Regions from separate parts of the Homo sapiens genome. Here region 1 is linked to region 2. The links are contacts of gene promoters, found by promoter capture Hi-C in blood cells and fetal thymus (Javierre and others, 2016). All regions are on one chromosome and are shown on one strand. The core of a region is centred on a gene start or on the middle of the fragment in contact, and the rest is flanking DNA. Distances in the headings are between cores, read along the strand shown. Region 1 overlaps TMC3-AS1 (TMC3 antisense RNA 1). Region 2 holds the start of CFAP161 (cilia and flagella associated protein 161).

Region 1 (3,153 bases), core at 272-2,771, 260 kb before region 2:
CAGCCTCTGATCCCACGTACAAGATGAAGAACCTGAGTTCCAGAGAGATCACAGAATTAGTTTTCAAAGGAGTCAAATCTAGAAGTTTGTTTCCTAATTCCCATTCTGATGTTCTTCAGCAAGCATCACTTTTGCTTCCTATGTCTTTTTCTGATATGCTATTTCTCTTATTTTCTGAGAATTACACTTACTCATGTAAAGGGTTTTTTTTTTTGTTTTCTTCTCTCCCTGTTGCTATGTTTCAGGCAGATAACTTATTTAAAATCATTTCACATTGCTGTCTACATTGGCCTACGCATTGCTAACCTCAGGAGAAAACTCAATTCAAACTAAATAATATCCACCTGTAGCTACCACAAAATGTTCAGCTGGGGCCTTGGGGTGTTTGGGTGAATCAAACATGGTCTTCACCTTCCAGGAGCTCTAAGTTAAATGGATGAGGAAGAGAAGCAAATGAGATGATTGCCTTAAGAGAGGTATACTACTCTTTCTATTAGCAGAGAAGAGGAGGGTATCCCATCCAACTGGAAACCGGAGATCCTTGGGAAGGAGATGACGTTTAGGATAGACCATGAAGGTCAGATGAGATAGTATAAGCCATAAATAGGGTAAAGGAGTATGTAGATGACAGACAGCTTGGACAAATTATGCAGCCAGGAAAGGAAGCAGAAATTTGGGAAGTAGGAATTCTGTTAATCAGGATATGCTCTGTTCTGCAGTTGTAACAGATTACTCCAAATGGTCAGTGGCTTAACAAAGGCTTATTTGTTACACATGGTCATGTCTAACAAGTGTCGGCAGAGCTTTATTCCATACAGTCACTCAGGGACCCAGGCTGAGTAGGAACCATCATCCTGAAACTCCATTATCTGGCTCACACAACTTAAGTTGCCATAGTAGAGGAAAGAAAACTAAAATATTGTTCATAAATTTTTCACTGCTTCTGTCAGAAGGGGCATGTATCACTCGCACACATATATTATTGGCCAGAACTTGTCGCATGGCTCTAACTCAACACAAGCCTGGACTATTTGGTGCATGTTACTTTCTCTGCCACAAGAGTATTCCAAAATTGACTGTAATTCAGAATATTTATAAGGCAGGAGCTTGGATCTTAACGTAGAAAGCCTTTCAAGTTTTGGTGAAAGGCTAACAATTTGCCCCAACTCTGAGAGTATCAGAACTCTGTTTTAATATAAAGAACATTACATGTTTACCAATGAGCCAAGCTTTCCCAAAAGTCAAGTAGAGGGAGCAAAGCTTTGCTATTACTGTGCATAAGATTTTTTATTAATTCTGCAAAGGGGCCACTGGCAAGAACAGATTCTAAGGACCTCTCGTAGCTCCAGGCTACATCAAGGCAATCAGATCTGGGAGTTGCCAGTGTCAATATAACAAAGGAAATACATTCCTGGGCATGGTGATAGAGAGTGGGAGGTAGATTCACAGATATCTTCCAGTGTTTCACGTCTGAGAACCTTCCAAAATAGTTGTCTTTCTCCTACTTTGACATCTAATGAAGAAAAGCATTCAGATGATCACCACAACTTTAAGAGAGTCACCCTTGATTTGTGTGATAATGTGAAACTTACTAAGCAGCTGAAGGAATTGGGTAATTCTGTGTTACGACACTGGAGCCGTAAATCCGACCAACCCCATTAAATACTTAGGAGTCTGTTTACTATCTGTCTCTATTTATTACCTGGCTTCCCCCCATGACATTGCAGAGAAATAAAGTGCAAACAAGAACTACACCAGAAGAAGGCAGGTACAGAAAGCTTTGTTACCTCCTACTGAAATGAACTAAATTTGTTTGCAGGCCAAACTGTGCTAGAAAACTTTTGAAAGCATTGCAGTTTGACTAAGGAAAAGGTCTGAAGTCTTTCCAACTGTCCCAAGATATTTCTCAAATTATCGCTAATGGAATCAGATTATTTGGGAAATATTAATCTATGCATATTCAGACTCAGATACTGAGCTAAGGAATTCAAATAGTTAGTATTCCTACATGGATTTGGTTAGTGATAAGGTACAGATCCAGGCATGTTCTGGGTGTCACATTGCCCAGGTCATGCCAGGGCTATGGAGAGGACAAACAGGTGTCTGGAAAGGGACATATTTCTCAGGCGGACAGGAGCCTAGTTAGAGCAGGGCTGGCTAAACAGTATAAACCAAAGGCGGGCCAAACTCATTCAGGAGTTTGGCATAGACTTGGAGAAATTCAAACCAAGTAGTTCCTTATAGGACAAAGGTGGCAGCATCATTCAGTCTCTTTAACAAGGTAACAAGGTTACTCAACACCTCCTCATTGTTGGGAAGGATGGGGTAGGGGTAAAGGGCTGAGTAGTAGGGCCAACATGCAGGAAAATGACGAGAGCATAACTTTTCTTTCTGGTCTTGAAGGTAACGTCTTCACAGGATGGGATTCCCTGAAAGCTGCCATTATTATCTCCAGGTTTCCCTCCTATCCATCCATTGCTGCTGAGTAGGGCAACGCCTGGGACCAGTTAATTATCACAGGAGAAGATCTTTCCAAATCAGGGATTGTAAAGGTGGAGGGGAAAATTCTCCCTTCAGTATTCTAAGATGAATCTCTTCAAGCCCAAGATGGCAGCAGTTGTCTTCTTAGTGCAGCCTTGCTCAATTCACTTATCACTGGGTCTCGGAGTCTCAAAAGTAAAAAAGGGCTGTGCACATTACACACACACACGCGCGCGCACATACACACACTCTTTAGCATCATATAATGTCATCACTGGTATCCTGGAGTCTTTACTGCTTACCTGTACCCTCTTTCCTCCACAAGGTCAATGAAACATCAATCATCCAATGCAGAACCAGAAAAGAAAGGCTGCAGGTACTTGACGGTTACATTGAAAAGCTGAATGGCAGGAAGATGGGCAACTGGTTTAAGTTTAAGATAGAGAGTTGAGATGTCCTGCCTTTAGATATCAGGAGCTGGGGAGATTATAGAAGGAAGGGACAAGGTAGATAATAGACAATAAGAACCAAAGATCTGCAGCAATGAAGGGAGCAGGCATCATGAGTCACCATCATCTTAGAGTCCAATTGTATTTCTTTTTGCCATCATGGGGAAACCAAAAGTAGAAAGTGGTCACCACTGTTTTTAAATTGTCCAGAGAAAATAACATT
Region 2 (3,580 bases), core at 39-2,538:
AGGGGAACATCGCACACTGGGGCCTGTTGTGGGGTGGGGGGAGGGGAGAGGGATAGCATTAGGAGATATACCTAATGTTAAATGACGAGTTAATGGGTGCAGCACACCAACATAGCATATGTATACATATGTAACAAACCTGCACGTTGTGCACATGTACCCTAAAACTTAAAGTGTAATAAAAAAAAAAAAAGTTACCGGTCTCAAGAGATTCTGTTTTAGTCTTCTACTTCTCTGTATGAGAAGTTTCCCCTTGTCTCTCTTCTCTAAGAAGTCTTTCATGAGCTCCTAAACAGAAAATCAACAAAAGTAGCCCTGAATAATATAGATGTTAGTATTAATAACTTTTAGGTCAGAAGCTCTTCCAAGTTGAAAAAGCAAAATTTGAGTACAAAAAAAGAGATGTGAGCATAATTGGAATGATGGAACGTTTTTAGCACTACTTTAATATTTTTACTACATTATAGAATGTTTAGAAAAATGAGAAAGGCAAAACAAAGAAAAAGAAACATCACCAGTAATTACTCCAGCCAGATACCATCCTAAATGACATTTGGAGGCCATGTCTCCCCTGCTGGGGTTTCCCTTGACCGTATGATGACTGACACTAGAAAGTTCACCCCTCCCCAATCTGACCCGTATACGAATGGCTCAAAGCCTTGTTAAGACCACCCTTGGGAGAATACGAGGCAGTGAGTGAGTACAACGTCAATAAAAGGAATACTCAGGGTCATTTAAGAGGGCAAGCGTGGCAGGGTTGGAGTGGGGAGGGATATTATTTCTACCTAGAACCTGTGTCCTCACCTGGCCCGCAGCCTGAGACTGTAAGACTCTAAGGAATACGGGGGACTTAGTGGGGCTCTAGACTAAGCGGGAGACACAGGCCAGGGGCTTGAGAGTCAAGGCATCTGACTTTGGGAGGCCAAGGGACCCAGAGAAAGAAAAGTCAGGGTGCTCGGAGTAGAGGTCAGTGAGACCTGGGTTTGCAGTTCGGCAGGTGAGATTCCTTGGGAGTTTAGAGAAGTGGGGGATTTTAGAGGTATTCGCTGTATGCTGGGAGAGAGAGGAGGCTTGAGGCGCTCAAAGTAGGAGACTGAACTTAGAGCAGGGTCTGGGAGTTCCTGAGCTGCGGGTCTGCGCCTGGCCACACCCTGCGTACCTCCTCCAGGTAGACATCCTCATTCCAGTTGCCTATCCGGACTCCCGGACCATACACGTTCTGCGCCATCGCTCCCTGCTGTTCAGCAAGTGGGCCTCCCTCCGACACCATGCGTTAGCGTGGCGCGTCGCCATGACGACCCGGCCCCAGGCGATTGGTCAAGGTCTGGGACCCTGCTGGCCAATAAGCGACAGCGCGCACCCTCGCCCTGGGGCGGGAGATGGGGCGTCTGGGTCAGCGGCTGTCTGTGGCCCTCCAGCCCGCCCCACTTCCACCTCTTAGATTTCCTTAACTGCAGGGTGGGCGAGAGGGAAAACCCTGGCTGACAAAGTGCTTCCGAGAGAGAAATTTAAAGCTTTCTTTCTATTAGAATCTAACCGAAAAGTGCTATCGAGTACCCCTTGCTTGTCGAGGCAACAAAGAGGAGCTTTTAAATGGAAGCACGGCTTGCTTGCAGCCTATTTTTTGTAATCAGCAGCAGCAGCAGCAGCAGCAGCAGCAGCAATTTCGCCCTAATCATAAAACAATACCTGCTCAATGTACACATTTGGAAACCAAAATCGCATAGAAAGAAGAAAGGAAAATTAATAATTTCAGGGCCTTAAAAGTAAGAAATATACCATGTTAGTATATTTCTGTTTATAGGTTTCTGAGGTTGTCCATATTTTTGCGGACTTGACAGCATCCTCCCTCCCTCCCTCCCTTGCTCCCTCCTTCCCTGGGTCTCAAAGTTAAAGGACGAACCTGTGATTTGCAGGAACTCTTAAGAAAACCAGACTCTGCTGTAGCCAGCATTAATAAAACAAAATATTATTTTCTGGGGAGGGGAGGGATACCAGTTACTGTAGGACTACCGGAGGCTTGATGCAGATTGAATGCATTCAGTAATTTACCTCTATTTAGTGTCTAGTAAGACATGACTGAAATGGAAGACAGGAGCCTCCGCTCCCTTCAGCAAACCCAGTCTAAAAGAAAAGATAGTTCATGAAAACGAATTACTTAAGGAAGACTGTGGAAAAATGCAATTAAAGATGTGCTGATGGGCTGGCGTGGTGGCTCAAGCCTATAATCCAGCACTTTGGGAAGCCGAGGCAGGAGGATCACTTGAGCCCAGGAGTTCTAGACCAGCCTGGGCAACATAGTGAGACCCCATCTCCAATTTAAAAAAAAATACATATATATATATATATATATATATATATATATATATATATATATATATGCTGATGAAGGGCCATGGAGTTGAAGGATCCTTTCTGTCTTGAGGAACTGTGAGAATGGGAATTGGATGGCCTTTGAGTGATGGGAGAGGGGCTGCTTTGGAGCTGAACTGGGAAGGATTTGAACTGGCAGGCTGAAGTGTAGAATAAAAATAGGAACATTCCCACATTCTGATGAATCCACCAGCTCTGTCAATATATCACCACATTCGAGGATACTTCTGAAGGACACATAGGACAAAGCAGTTAGATCAGATAGTATACCACTAACTGCATTTGATAAATTCAGAAACTGAGACTCAAAGAAGCTAGCAGTCTAAATTCAAACTGCTAAAAGTTGCTCAAAGAAAGGACTCAGTCCAAACTTTCCGACTCCAAAGTCATGTTTGTTTGTTTTTCCTTTTAAGTATTTTTCATATTCCTCATAAAATCAAGAATAAAACAAAGCAGCTCTAGTCTCTACATTTTTAACAAGGTTCTAATGATTGGGTCATTCAGTAAGTCCTTACACTGATACAGCTTTGCTCCCACCTACTTCCTTAGTGCTATTTTTGACAAGTATATTACATTTCTATATATAATAGACCCAATAATACAATTATACATAGTGTTTTATACAATTGCTTTAAATCACTCAGGAGAAGAAATATCTTTATTGGTGCTCTATGGTATTTTTCTATGAACACAAATTACTGCTTTGTGTTGTTTTCAACCTGAATAACTTCCTTCCATATTTCTTATAAATCAGGTCTGCTAGCAACACATTCTCTTGGTTTTTGCTTACCTTAATAAGATGCTTTTTCTGGATACATGATTCTTTGTTGATAGCGTTTTTTTCTTTCTTTCAATATTTTAAATATGCCATCCTACTACCTCTGGACTCCCTTATTTCTTTTTCTTCCAAGACAGAGTCTCACTCTATCAACCTGGCTGGAGTACAGCAGCACAATCTCGGCTCACTGCAACCTCTGCTTCCCAGGTTCAAGCAATTCTCATGCCTCAGCCTCCTGAGTACCTGGGGCTAAAGGCATGTGCCACCATGCCTGGGTAATTTTTGTATTTTTAGTAGAGATGGGGTTTTACCAGGTTGGCCAGGCTGGTCTTGAACTCCTGACCTCAAGTGATCGGCCCTCCTCAGCCTTCCAAAGTGCTGGGATTACAGGCATAAGCCACCCTGCCCAGCCATGGCCTCCATTATTTC

The links. The method cuts DNA at HindIII sites, captures the fragments that hold promoters and counts their contacts. A CHiCAGO score of 5 or more calls a contact.
Region 1: a fragment that was not itself captured here is called in contact with the fragment with the promoter of CFAP161 in region 2 in 1 of 17 cell types (naive CD4 T cells); the score reaches 5.0 in naive CD4 T cells.

The regions. Positions count from the first base shown.
Region 1 is chr15:81,397,594-81,400,746 of GRCh38, reverse strand. The region is part of intron 6 of TMC3-AS1 (TMC3 antisense RNA 1); the gene reads right to left. Among named protein-coding and RNA genes, the nearest start is that of TMC3, 25 kb to the right of the region's middle. The HindIII fragment of the contact is 518 bases long and covers 1,263-1,780 here.
Region 2 is chr15:81,131,978-81,135,557 of GRCh38, reverse strand. CFAP161 (cilia and flagella associated protein 161) reads right to left here and starts at 1,288. Exons shown (of 7, transcript NM_173528.4): 1 at 1,160-1,288; 2 at 199-288. The coding sequence starts at 1,228. The HindIII fragment of the contact is 5,504 bases long and covers 1-1,516 here.